4 separate regions of the Homo sapiens genome follow, and all the other regions are linked to region 2. The links are contacts of gene promoters, found by promoter capture Hi-C in blood cells and fetal thymus (Javierre and others, 2016). All regions are on one chromosome and are shown on one strand. The core of a region is centred on a gene start or on the middle of the fragment in contact, and the rest is flanking DNA. Distances in the headings are between cores, read along the strand shown.

Evidence for each region. The method cuts DNA at HindIII sites, captures the fragments that hold promoters and counts their contacts. A CHiCAGO score of 5 or more calls a contact.
Region 1: a fragment that was not itself captured here is called in contact with the fragment with the promoter of ZNF366 in region 2 in 1 of 17 cell types (endothelial precursors); the score reaches 5.0 in endothelial precursors.
Region 3: a fragment that was not itself captured here is called in contact with the fragment with the promoter of ZNF366 in region 2 in 4 of 17 cell types (M2 macrophages, M0 macrophages, endothelial precursors and 1 more); the score reaches 8.3 in M2 macrophages.
Region 4: a fragment that was not itself captured here is called in contact with the fragment with the promoter of ZNF366 in region 2 in 1 of 17 cell types (M1 macrophages); the score reaches 6.1 in M1 macrophages.

The regions. Positions count from the first base shown.
Region 1 is chr5:72,868,895-72,872,212 of GRCh38, forward strand. All of the region lies in intron 6 of TNPO1 (transportin 1), which reads left to right. Among named protein-coding and RNA genes, the nearest start is that of MIR4804, 8.0 kb to the right of the region's middle. The HindIII fragment of the contact is 3,294 bases long and covers 1-3,074 here.
Region 2 is chr5:72,506,003-72,509,146 of GRCh38, forward strand. ZNF366 (zinc finger protein 366) reads right to left here and starts at 1,408. Exons shown (of 5, transcript NM_152625.3): 1 at 1,249-1,408. The HindIII fragment of the contact is 5,585 bases long and covers 1-2,332 here.
Region 3 is chr5:72,850,447-72,853,911 of GRCh38, forward strand. TNPO1 (transportin 1) reads left to right here. Exons shown (of 25, transcript NM_002270.4): 3 at 798-873. Among named protein-coding and RNA genes, the nearest start is that of MIR4804, 26 kb to the right of the region's middle. The HindIII fragment of the contact is 5,274 bases long and covers 1-3,465 here.
Region 4 is chr5:72,832,236-72,835,612 of GRCh38, forward strand. All of the region lies in intron 1 of TNPO1 (transportin 1), which reads left to right. Among named protein-coding and RNA genes, the nearest start is that of TNPO1, 17 kb to the left of the region's middle. The HindIII fragment of the contact is 463 bases long and covers 1,383-1,845 here.

The DNA.
Region 1 (3,318 bases), core at 178-2,677, 360 kb after region 2:
CTACTCGGGAGGCTGAGGCATGAGAATCACTTGAACCCGGGAGGCGGAGGTTGCAGTGAGCCGAGATCGTGCCATTGCAACTCCAGCATGGGCAACAAGAGCAAAACTCCATCTCAAAATAAAAAAAGTTTATAACATATTGCAATGAATTTCTACACAGCAAGGAAAGAGTTGTACAAACAGCTCAAACTATATTAAGATAATTTTTCCGTATTTTTATTGTGTTCTGGCTTATCTCAACTTGAAAAAAATTTTGGGTAACGTTACTCCTATTTATAAGGTAAATTTATATTATGTCCCAGAATGGAATGAAAATAAGGCCTACAGTTTTACAACATATAAAATTGGCAGAACTTTTAAAATAATAAATGGCAGGGCGTAGTGGCTCACACCTGTAATCCCAGCACTTTGGGAGGCTGAGGCGAGTGGATCACCTGAGGTCAGGAGTTTGAGACCAGCCCGGCCAACATGGCAAAATCCTACCTCCATTAAAAATACAAAAGTTAGCCTGGCATGGTGGCATGCACCTGTAATCCCAGTTACTTGGGAGGCTGAGGCACGAGAATCACTTGAACCCAGGAGGCGGAGGTTGTGGTGAGCTGACATTGCGCCACTGCACTCCCTCCTGGGTGACAGAGTGAGACTCCATCTCAAAAAAATAAATAAAGACAGTTTTACCTTATAAAAATATGAGTTGAAGAAAGGCTAAAAATCAGAATTTGACCTGGAATATGCAGACTTTCAGGATGAGAAATTAGAATTGAAAATATACATGATTTAACAGAATTACTCTGAGCTTACTAAATACCTCAGATGCTTCTGGGGGAATATTTTCTTATAATCTATAAGGAAGAGATCATATTGGAGAAAAATTCATTCTTCACAAACAAATGCCATTTATATAGTATCAGACAGATCTAATTAACAAATTGATATTGATTATGAATATGTGACATGAGTAATTATTCTGCCTTTGTTATTGCCTTTGATCACCAGAAATCAATACAAGGAAGTTTTATTTTTATATACACAGATATCCATAGCATTCCAAGTTTATCATCTGTATTTCTGGCCTAGATCTGATTCCTTTTATTGGGAAATGATATTTAGAGCTTTCAGTAGGACAGTAGGAATGCCTTTTCTCTTCCTTATAAATTCTACAGTTGTCAAGTTTTATGAAAAGCCTTGTTGGAATTTACGTTGGAATAACATTAAATCTGTGGATCAATTTAGAAGAAATAGTCATTTTCACAATACTAATTGCTTTTTTTTTTTTTTTTTTTGAGACGGAGTTTCACTCTTGTCTCCCACACTAGAGTGCAATGGCATTATCCCTGCTCACTGCAACCTCCACCTCCCAGGTTCAAGCGATTCTCCTGCCTCAGCCTCCCAAGTATAGCTGGAATTACAGGCGCATGCCATCACTCCCAGCTAATTTTTTATTTTTGGTGGAGATGGGGTTTCACCATGTTGGCCAGCCTGGTCTCCAACTCCTGACCTCAGGTGATCCGCCCACCGTAGCCTCCCAGAGTGCTGGGATTACAGGCGTGAGCCACCGTGCCCAGCCAATTGCTTGTTTTTAATGAAGTTTTCTACTTTTCTTTTTAGAGGCCTTGAACATATTACATATTAAATGTATTCCCAGGCACTTACTTGGTCTTATGATACTATTGTAAATGGTAGCATTTAAGTTACACTTTCTAGTTTTTTCCTTCATTGCTGATGTATAGAAACTATATTAAACTTCCAAAGAAAGCACGTCACACTGTTTCTTTTAATTTAAAATGTAAGTCCTAACTGTTCCCAAGTTTCTAAAAATGGTTTGGGGAGGCTAGTAGTAGGTGCCTCTGGAGGTTGGGGATAGGAGAGATTTCTGCCTTTAAATTTTGCCTTACATGCACACAAAAAAAATGCAAGTTAAAAGATTTCTGTTCTTGATTTAAAGGCCCTTTAAAAGACTTTATTGTATTTTTTTTCCATTTGTTTACTATGCCAAGTACTTAACATATATATTAGCTCATGTAGTTTAATCCCCCCAACAAATGAATGAATTGTAGGTTGCTGTTGTTTTTGAGACAGAGTTGGTTTTTTTTGAGACTGAGTCTCTCTCCATCGCCCAGGCTAGAGTACAGTGGCGCGATCTCGGCTCACTGCAACCTCCGCTGCCCGGGTTCAAGCGATTCTCCTGCCTCCTGCCTCAGCCTCCCGAATAGCTGGGATTACAGGCATGCACCACCAGGCCCGGCTAATTTTTGTATTTTTAGTAGAGGCAGGGTTTCACCATGTTGGCCAGGCTGGTCTAGAACTCCTGACCTCAAGTGATCCGCCCGCCTCGGCCTCCCAAAGTGCTAGGATTACAGGCGTGAGTCACTGCGCCCAGCCAGTAGTAGTTTTATAGAATGAGAAAAACACACTTTAAAGCATAGGTAGCTTACCCTGTGTTGAACATTTAAGGGGTTGAGCTCCCCATAGTATGCTTTTTTCACTTAATGTTATCTTGGTAAATGTTTATGTGCTTTGCTGTAACTGCAGAACCAAAAATCAACTGTTTTTGGCACAGTGGTTAAGACAAAGAAAGGTTTTCATGGGGTTATATTTCAGAAGAGGAGACAGGACAGATAATGAATAAGTAATATGATTTCATACAGTCATGAGTACAATGGAAAAATAATGAGATCAGGGATAGACAGTGATTCAGAGATACTTTATGTAAATGGCTGTCTGTAAAGGAAACGTTTGTGCAAAGACTGAACAAAGTAAGGAAGTGAGTCTATGAAAGATGGTGAAGGATGTTTAAGACAGAACAGCAAGTGAGAAGTCTCTGGAATTAGGAATCAGCCTTTTAGAGTGACAAAAGAAAGAAACTTTGGGTTGTAGCAGCATAATGGGAATTGAAGTTAGGGGGTAAGGGAGGAGCCACAGTATAAAGGAATGTCTAGGCAAGTAGTCAGCAAACTATGTCCCATGGAGCCAAATTTAGCCCATGACCTGCAAGGTAAGGATGATTTTTAAATTTAAGAGGTTGTAATTAAGAGGGAAAAAAATGACAACAAAGGTCTTCATGTGGCCCATAAAGCTTAAAATATTTACTGTTTGACCTTTTGTAGAAAAAGTAGATTAAGTTTTATTGCAGCAATCTGAATGAGAGTATAGTGTGGTCTGTGTGTGTCAAACAGGCTGTAGTGGGGTTTGGCACAATGGAAGTCAGGAAACCAAGTACAGCCTATTTCATTAACCCTGGTAAGAGATCAGAGATCATGGCTTGGTTGAGAGAAATGAAAGCAGTGAGAAATGATTAGATTAAGAGTAAATTTTTAA
Region 2 (3,144 bases), core at 158-2,657:
TAGTTCTGTCATGTTTTCTCATCCTTAGTAAGATGATGGTTCAATTTTGAATAAAGATTAATTACTTGAATGTGGTTAAAGCATAGTCTAGCCAAATTAATTTTTAAAATGAGAGTCCAGCTATTTTTATCTTATTCTTCACATCCCAGGTGATTTCAATCAGTAAATTTCATAGCAGTGAATATTTTTAAAAAGTATGCTTGGCCATTGGCTTTTACCCATTCGGCATCTCTCTGAATTAAAGTATTAATATTGGGAAACATAACGAGTCTCTCGGAGTGACCTTGCTGACCTATTTTTGACAACATGATTTCGGCTCCCTCATGGCTTGCGATGATAGGTGCTGGTAACATTATCCTTTATGACTAATCTAATTGAAGCAAGTTAGACTTTTAAAAACTAGTTGTGTATGTTAGCTTGACTAGCTTGCTACGCCCTATTTGGTGCTTGGAAAACCAGGCACTGGGTGAATGCTTTTCAATTGCGTCTGTAACTTAGTTTTTCCCTCCTACTGACATAAATGATCCATCTTAATCCTCCCATTCTAGCTGCATATTGTTTTCCAAAACTAAAGCTATATGCCCCAAAACCTTTGCCTTCTATCATGTGGCAGATGACATCTTCCACTGACAGTGAATAATAAATTTACACTCAACCCGCATGGGGAACCTGAACACATAAGCTCCCCACATGCAGAACTATTTCCAAGTGACATTCCCTTCTCTCTTTCCCTTCTACTTCAGTGATGCAGAATAACCATCATATAACAATTAACAATCCTCCTTTAGGGGGATGCTGAATGGAAAGAAAAGAACAGGAGAAGGGCACCTCAATCCAGGTAACGTATTAACAAAAACCCCAGAGCAAACCACAGTCCTTAACAGACACCCTGATAAGGCTCCCAGGACACAGTACTGAGGAAGAGCAAATTCTCCAGTGGGACACATCTCACACGCCAGTGGCTCCTGGTTCTCCCAGCCACATGATCTGTGCCAAAATTCAGATTTAACGCAGTGTCCTCTTTAGTCCCAATGTAATTCTATTTCTAGTTTTGCCAGCCTTAGTTCTGCAAAGCATCAGTATTCTCTTACCAAAAAAAAGTATTAGCTGAAATTCTGGGCCATCTATCACTTATACCCTTTGGTTAAGGACTACTCCCAGTAAGGTATTTTCTGTTGAAGATGCCCACAGCAGTATCCACCCAGGAACCTTGAAAAGGAAGCAGAAATGATTGCATGGGTAACTTACCAGCTCCTGAGGTCTGAATGGCTGCAGCAGCCCCACTCCTTTACCTGATCCCTGCTCTCTCTGTCTCTCTCCCTCTCTCTCTCCCTCTTTCTCTTGTGTACAGATTGCAGGGAACTTAAAGAACTCGCAGGGACAGTGTTTCGAATGACTTAAGAAAGAGAACAGGAACAATACTTCGTTCTCTTTTTCTCAGATGAGTACCTTCGGGAAGAAGGAAGGAAGGGAGGGGAGAGGGAGGAAGTCAACAACCCTTTGCTTTCCTGAAAAAAAATAAGGAAACAGAAGATAGACATCTCATTTTCTCTTAAACAAAATGTTGGAAGGGGCAAAAAAAAAAAATCTTTGAAAAAAGGAATTCCTCAAATATGTTCTCTGCCCTGGGAGCTTTAAAGAGATGAAACGCCTTAGTGGCCTGTCCTGTCCAAACAAACGGTGTTCCAGACAGGCAGGCTCTCCTGAGCCTGCAGCCTCTGGTATCTGGTTTGCAGAACTGACACAGCCGAAAGGGAACAAATCATGTCATGTCGACTTAGAGCAAGGGAGAGCTTGGCCTGTTGTGCTAACCAAGGTAAACCTGCAGCCTGTAAGACAGTGTCGGGGCTGGGCAGCCAGGACTCCTGGCTTTTCTTAGGCCCTTTGAAACACCAGCATTGCTGCAATTCCTCGCTGACTCTAGATCCTTAGAGTTTTTCCAGGATCAAATAGCAGATTTATGCCCACCGAACTTTATACAGTGGACCCAATCCAGCTTCCATCACTGATGGATGAAAAAGGAAAAGAAGCAACTAACCACAACTGCTGCCGGCCATGGTTATCTCAGATCTGTTGTTTATATTATTCTATCCTCTACATTCCTAAGGCGTCTTGGATTTAATCACCTCTGGAAAACTGGAAGGAGATTTCTAATTTGTTTTCAAAATACTGTGAAGCAGCATAGGGTTTAGATAAATCAGCCATGGTGTTCGAAAAAAGATAGGGGAGGCAGGAGCAGTTAAAATGGAGGGAGTAACCTTTATCAAGGTAGAAGACTTGGGGCTTCAGCAGGCAGGCATGAGCTTGCTTAGGCTAGTTGCACTTAGGAATAAGCTTGGTTTTAACTTCTCTGATTTGTGTTATGTCTCTTGTGTCCCTTATTCATCTGGTTAGGACCATTTTCACTGTGAACAGGAACCAGCAGTTATGTAGACCTTTGTGGCAGCAAAAGAAAAACCAGCCTTACACTACTTCCTCATTTCACCCAACTGTGAAAAAAATGGGGTGGACAGATACACCTGATTGCAAAGAGTCATGAAAGTGAGTTCAGGGGAAGAATGATTCTGATTCAGTGACCCTGTAAGATTTTGATTGAGTCCTTATTGGCCTATAGGATTATGTTTTTATTCTGACAGATATTTTTCTATCATCTATCTGTCTATCTATCATCTATCTATCTATCTATCTATCTATCATCTATCTATCTAATCTATCCATATATCTATCTATCTCCCTGTCTATCTAGTTATCTGAATATGTGTGCATGTATCAGAGAGAGACATGAAGATTTTGTTACTCGGTAGGTGTGCACAAGCCAGAGCAGAGTCCCATTCCTTGCATCCGCCACAGCACCAACACTGGCACAACCCATGGCACTGAGTTCTGGCCTGGGTGACCCAGCCTCACCAACAGTGGGGAACACGGATGACCAGAGACAGTCTCTTTGGTTCGCTTAGAGCCACACGCCAACACGTTCCTGTCTCCTGATCCCGGCTCTCGGGCTCTTTGCCCTCTGCTGGCCTTCCTCTACATCCTGCCTTTGTAGAAATGGGAAGGGAAATGAAAATGAAAATCTGAGAAAGCCAGGGAAGGGCATGAGGGAATGGAGCAGGAAGGCCTAGGAATGGAGTCTTTTAAAGGGGG
Region 3 (3,465 bases), core at 105-2,604, 340 kb after region 2:
GTGTTACTGGAGTTTGATTCATGGATTTAATCAGAAATTTAGATTTGTTGGGTGACAAAACATTTTAATCTTTCTGTGTAGTAAAACACAATTGGGAAGCATGTTAGTTAGGGGTTGGGAGTCAGGGCTTGAAGAAAGATGTAATAGAGCATTTTGTCACAGCTGCCTCCCGACAGCGATGAAATACCTGCAAATTGGTATCACTAAAAATGTTGCATCTTGGGGATGAGGGGAAGAATTGTACAGCTGTAGTGCAATAATCTCATAATGCTGACTTTATAATAAGATATATAGCCTTGTGCATAAATGGCACTTTATCTTTTTGGATTCTAAAGAACAAATGAGTCTGAGAAGTATCTTTTTTTTAAAAGTTATTCTATAAAGTTAATTTCTCTAAATGATCTTCAACTCTGAAAGACTTGTTTTCATTTGGAATGCTTTTATTTTTGTCATTTTATGCTTAAATACCTTTCTATTTAGAATGGTTTAAAGTTGAAATCCAAGAATTTTTTTGAATATTTTTTGCTATATTGAGCATGCTGAAGCTGGAACTTTCTTATGTTGTATTGCATGTAATTGATACATTTCAGCCATAAAGCACCTAAGAGGTTTAGCAAGCACTAGCGTGTTTTTGAAATAGATGTTGATAGATTTAGTAAGATATCCTTATTCTTAGTTTAAAAAAAAAACGCAGGACTGAAAATACCACCAAAGAGATCCTTGATTTTTAGATTTAAAATGCTTAATTTCTTCCTGAGATTACACAGAGAAGTTTCCTTAACTACTGTTTGTTCTAGAAACTGGAACAACTTAATCAGTATCCAGACTTTAACAACTACTTGATTTTTGTTCTTACAAAATTAAAATCTGAAGGTAAGTAGGATTTGTATTGATAACTATTTAAAGTTTCTTTAAGACCTGTTTAAATGTACTGAGAATTATTCATTTCAAAGGATTTCATTTTGTAGTAACCTTGTGCTTTATAGATGTGGGATAAACAGTCTTAGTTAATACCACTCAGTATTTACATGTTTAATAAGAATTCCTTTTTTTTAATGTATATACAGACAGAGTCTCACTCTATCACCCAGGCTGGAGTGCAGTGGTGCGATCTTGGCTCACTACAATATCTGCCTCCCGGGTTCAAGCAATGCTCATGCCAAACCTCCCTAGTAGCCGGGATTACAGGCATGCGCCATCACATCCAGCTAATTTTTTTGTATTTTTAGTAGAGACAGAGTTTTGCCTTGTTGGCCAGGCTAACCTTGAACTCCTGGCCTCTGGGGATTCGCCTGCCGCAGTCTCCCAAAGTGCTCGGATTGCAGGTGTGAGCCACTGTGCCCAGCCAGCATTCATTTTTAATAGGGTGTTTGTATAATAAGTTACTTAATTCTTTGCAGATGAAAAACTTGTTGCAAAGTCTACTTTAATGTTTTGCTTTCATGCATATAGATGGATATAACAAAGGTTGTAATACAAAGATTGAATGTAGGTTTTAATAACTGAATATGTGTGTTTTTTGTAGAAAAAAATTGAAAGGTCATATAATCAAAATGAAAAATTATTTATCCCATCTTCCAGAGATGATTATTGTTGATCTCTTCAATTATATCCTTCTCTGCTCTTATATGGTCACATACTATTTTAAAATTATTTAGCAAAAAGTGGGATCATTCTATTGATAAGTAGACTTTTGTAACTTTTTAAAAAACTTCTAAAAGTCTACATGAAACTTTTTCATGACTCTTAATTTTAAATTTAAATGATTTCTATGACAGTTTAAAGCCTGAGTAGTCTGATTTTTAAATAACATGGTCATTTGATTATTTCTAATAATATGTAACGCATCCCACTAGACATTATTTCATAAATATTTATGGAGCGCCATCTCTGCCATGCAATTTACAGGCTCAGGAGAGAAAGGTGAACAAAACAGACAAAAATCACTGCCCTCAAGGAGCTTACGTTGTAGTGAGAGTTGTTTCTCATAGCATTATTTGGGTATTCCCTCCCTGAAACATTGTGGACACATAGAAGTCAATTAAATATTTATTGCGCAACTGATTGGCCTCTAAATGAAAGCGCTGTACCCTATTCAGTGATTAGTGTTTTAGAAGCCATGGTGCAATTAATAAAATCACTGCACTTGGAATTGGGAAATAACAAGGTTTAGACAACCAGACCATCTGTAAAGTTTCAGCTCCAAATTCTGACAGGTTAATAGTGTTATTGTGTAGTAAAAACTCACTGATTTGTATTCAGATTTTCATAATTCTTGCACGGTGATTTCTTTTGAATTATTTTCAGTTGATTTTGTAGTTAATTTGGGGGATTTTAATTTGTGAATGAAGGACACAATAGAAAATTTAGAACTCTTAAGTCTAGGTTTTAAGAAACTAAGAATTATTTCAACAATTAATATTCCTAGTTTGATATTTGCGATACATTGCTTCTTAATATAGAAATTTTTCTGACAGTTTGTGATCAACCTGTTTGTTTCTTATACTAAGATATTTATAAATGGATTTTTTAAATCTAATTGTTTTATTTGAAATTTTTAAATTTATTTTCACTAAGCTGTCCACTCTCATGTTCTTATCCTACATTCCAAATATTAGGATTGTTACAATATTATACTCTTGAGTACAGCTTTCTTGGGATATAAGGATACTTCCTTCAGGCCAGGCAAGGTGGCTCTTTCTTGGGATATAAGGATACCTCAGGCCAGGCAAGGTGGCTCACGCCTGTAATCCCAGCACTTTGAGAGGCCAAAGCAGGAAGATTGCTTCAGGCAAGGAGTTCAAGATCAGCAACATAGTGAATGGTGAAACTCCATCTCTGTAAAAATTAGCTGGCATAGTGGCACACACCTGTGGTCCCGCTACTCAGGAGGCTGAGGTGGGAGGATCACCTGAGCTCAGGAGGTCAAGGCTACAGTGAGCTGTGATCGTGCCACTGCACTCCAGTGTACTTAAGTGCTTCAGAAGTACTTAAAAAAACACAAACACACAACTTGTTAAGTAGTGGCAAGAGGGTTTGGAAGTCATTGCTTCCACAAAGACATTAATTACAAAACCATAAAATGTTGGAAAGGATTTTATTCAGATTTTCTTGACCCTAAAATGTGTTTCTTATGTTCATTATGCAGTTTCTCTGAGGATGCAGTAGTTTTACGTTGGTGTAACACTTGATATTTCTTCTTGTGTTTATGCATTTTTTTTTTTCCCTGGGAAGATTGGGACACAAGTTTGCTGCATGTAGTTTTCCATTTTAAAAAAATCTTTGCATCATGGCTGTTCATATTAAAGCAGCAATACAAGTAACATCTTAAATGAAAATGCTTATGTAGTAATCTTATCACTGAATTGTAGAGTAAAATTTTTGATCTGTAAGAGATCTCAGATCAGCTGCTCTAATTATCTCACTTTACAAATGAACAAATTGAGGGTACACTGAAGTAGTCTT
Region 4 (3,377 bases), core at 364-2,863, 330 kb after region 2:
TCAGCAGCATAGGATATTATCATTCCAAAATTATCTTTGCTAATTGGACTAAAACCATTACTTTATTATTACATTTATTTGATTACTAGTAAGGTTCAGCATTTTCTCATGTTTGTTTAATGTTGTATTTCCTCCTGTGAATTTTCTTTCATGTGCTACTATTCGTTCTATATTAGCTTCCCAGAAAAGTTACTAATATATTGCTTTCTTGTTGGAATATTTTAGGAGCTCTCTTTTATGCTTGTTCATACAAAGCAGATATTCATCTGCTATATTTGTCAACAGTGGTACCTCCTGGAAATGCCTAAGAGATGTTGTAGGTCCTTTGAGATATGGAGTGTCTGAGTCTTGAGAACCAAGTACTACCTGAAAGCTAGCATCATAGTGAGAGTAAATTGCCACTGTCCCTACATCTTCTCCTGTTGTAAAGTGTTAGTAAAATGAATATTGTGAGGTGTTTTTTCCCTTGATGGCATCAGTGGCAGTGATTGTCAGTGCTCAGAAACAAAATAGTGTAATTTGGAAAAGATAGGGGAAGAGAGGAGAGGAGAGGGATAGAAGTAGATGGGGAATGAATTCTGTTGTCCGTAAAGAGGTGTACACCTGAATTGGCAGATGACTTTATTCTGGGTTTTCTCTACTCTTCCCACTCAGTTTACTCTCCACCCATCTGGGTATATTCATTAGACTTCCTACCTTTCAGAGACTTGCATGTCAGCTCTCAGATTTACATTGGTGTTCAAATCAAAGGAAATTAATTCCCATGGCAGTCATCAGCCTTCATTGTACCAACCCTGCAATTCCTAGAGAACTCCCTGCTGCTGAAAACTGCCTTCTTCCTGATGGCTTTCTATTTCTAATCCATGAATGACTTAAAATAAACCTCCCCTTTTCTCTTAGACAATCCGAATTTGAGTTATTCCCCCTCTTGAAAATAAAAGAGCTTAATCAGGATAGCAATATTAGATAAAAATTCAAATATATACCACATGATTATATATATTACATAATTATATAATGTTATGTATTATGACAAACTAGTCCCAAGATGTTTTTGCTTTAAGTGGAAGAATTTGAATGTTTTAGGGAGTTCGTCCACCTCTACCTCCCTAAGTGCTGGTATTACAGGCATGAGCCACTGCACACAGCCCCTCTTAATCTGTAATGTTGGTTTCTGGGTCTTGATTTCCCCATTTTTAAAATAAGAGGATTGGATAGATGTTGTCTAGTACTCATTACATTCTGAAGCTTAGATGCTATGATTGCCATTCTCTAATTACAGTTAAAGTTAATAAATTTTTATTTTGTGGGCTGAGGGGAATGAATGGACATGATATTCAATTGGCCAACAACTTAATATCTCTATTTGTAAGACTAAAATAAGCTTTTTAACCTAAGATTCAGTTTTAAGGGTCCATGCTTATAAACTGAACACTTTCTTAATGTGTACAGATTAACATTATCTTTTGTGTCCAGTGTCATTTCAGATTTCCTTCCCATCTCACATTTCATTCTGTTTTTTATACTCATGAATTTTTATACGTCTCATTAATCCTGGTTGAGCCTCAGTGTTTCTTTATCACAGTAACAGAAAAATAATGTGAACACTTACAGAATATATGCTGCTGTTTTTTGTACTAAACTTTTAGTTGTACGGTAGTCTATCATATGACATTAGTTCCTACTGATTTTTTCCCACTTTTGGACCATCTCTATAGAATTTTCTTGTCCTATCCCTTTGCATAATATGAGGTGCACCCTCCATTAACTACACTCATGCATTTCAGTCAACGATGGACTACATATACCATGGTGGTCCCATAAGATTATGATAGAGAGCTGAAAAGCTTCTATTGCGTCTTGATGCTGTAATGCAATGCATTACTCACTCATATGTCTGCGGTGGCCCTGGTGTAAATAAACCTGCACTGCCAGTTATATAAAAATATAGCACATATGATTATGCACAATACATAATACTTGATAATGATAGTAAATAACTATTATTGGTTCATGTATTTACTATATTATTGTTATTTTTAGTGTACTTCTACTTATTTTTTAAAAAGTCCACTGTAAAACCACCTCAGCCAGGTCCTTCAGGAGGTATTCTAGAAGAAGGCATTGTTATCATGGGAGATGACAGCTCCATGCTTGTTATTGCTGCTGAAGACCTTCCAGTGGGACAGGATACAGAGGTGGAAGACAGTGGCATTGATGACACTGACCCTGTGCAGGCCTAGGCCAATGTGTGTGTTCGTGTCTTCATTTTTAACAAAAAAGTTTAAAAAGTAAAACAAAAATTAATATAAAAAAGTGTGTAGAATACAGCTATAAGGAGAAAATATTTTTGTATAGCTGTACAGTGTGTTTGTGTTATAAGCTAAGTATTAAAAGAGTCAAAACTTTTAAAATCTAAAGTTCATAAAATAAAAAGTTACAGTAACAGCTGAGGTTAATTTATTATTGAAGAAAGAAATTGTTGTTTAAGTACAGTAGTGTACAGTATTGTCCTAGGCCTTTGCATTCACTCACCGCTTACTCTCTGACTCACCCAGGGCAACTTCTAGTCCTATAAGCTCCATTCATGTTAAGTCCCTTATATTGATAAACCATTTTTTTATTTTTCATGCTTTTTATACTTTATTTTTTATTTTTATGCCTTTTATCTTTTTATGCTTTTTTACCATACCTTTTGTATGTTTACATATGTGTAGATACACAAGTACTTACCATTGTGTTACCATTGCCTGCAGTATTCAGTACAGCAACATGCTATACAGGTTTGTGGCCTAGGAGCCACAAGCTATACCATATAGCCTAGGTGTGTAGTAGGCTATACCATCTAAGTTCATGTAAGCACACTCTATGATGTTACAACAACAAGGAAATTGCCTAACAATGCATTTCTTAGACCGTATCCCTGTCCTTAACTGACACATGACTAAGTTTTTGCCCGTATACAATTTTTGTACTGATTTAATTCATGTCTGCTTTAATGTCCACCACTTGGTTTCCATTTTTTTCTTTGTTCTTATTCTTCCAATATTTCTGTTTTGATTTTTCTACTTTAGAATATCACCTGCCTTTGTCTGTTGCTGTTGCAAAATACCTTAGACTGGGTAATTTACAAAATAATAAAAATGTATTTCTCATAGTAGTACACAGCCTGGGAAGTCCAGCCAATTTGATATCTAGTGAAGGCTTGCCCTCTGCTTCATAAATGGAGCCTTCTTGCTGCATCCCCACATGGACGAAGGGATGTGCCCTCACATGGTGGAAGGGGAGCAGAAAGGCCAAACTGGCTCCCTTAAGCCATTTGATAAGGGTATTAATCCCATTAATGAGGACAGAACTCTCATGACGTAATCACTTCC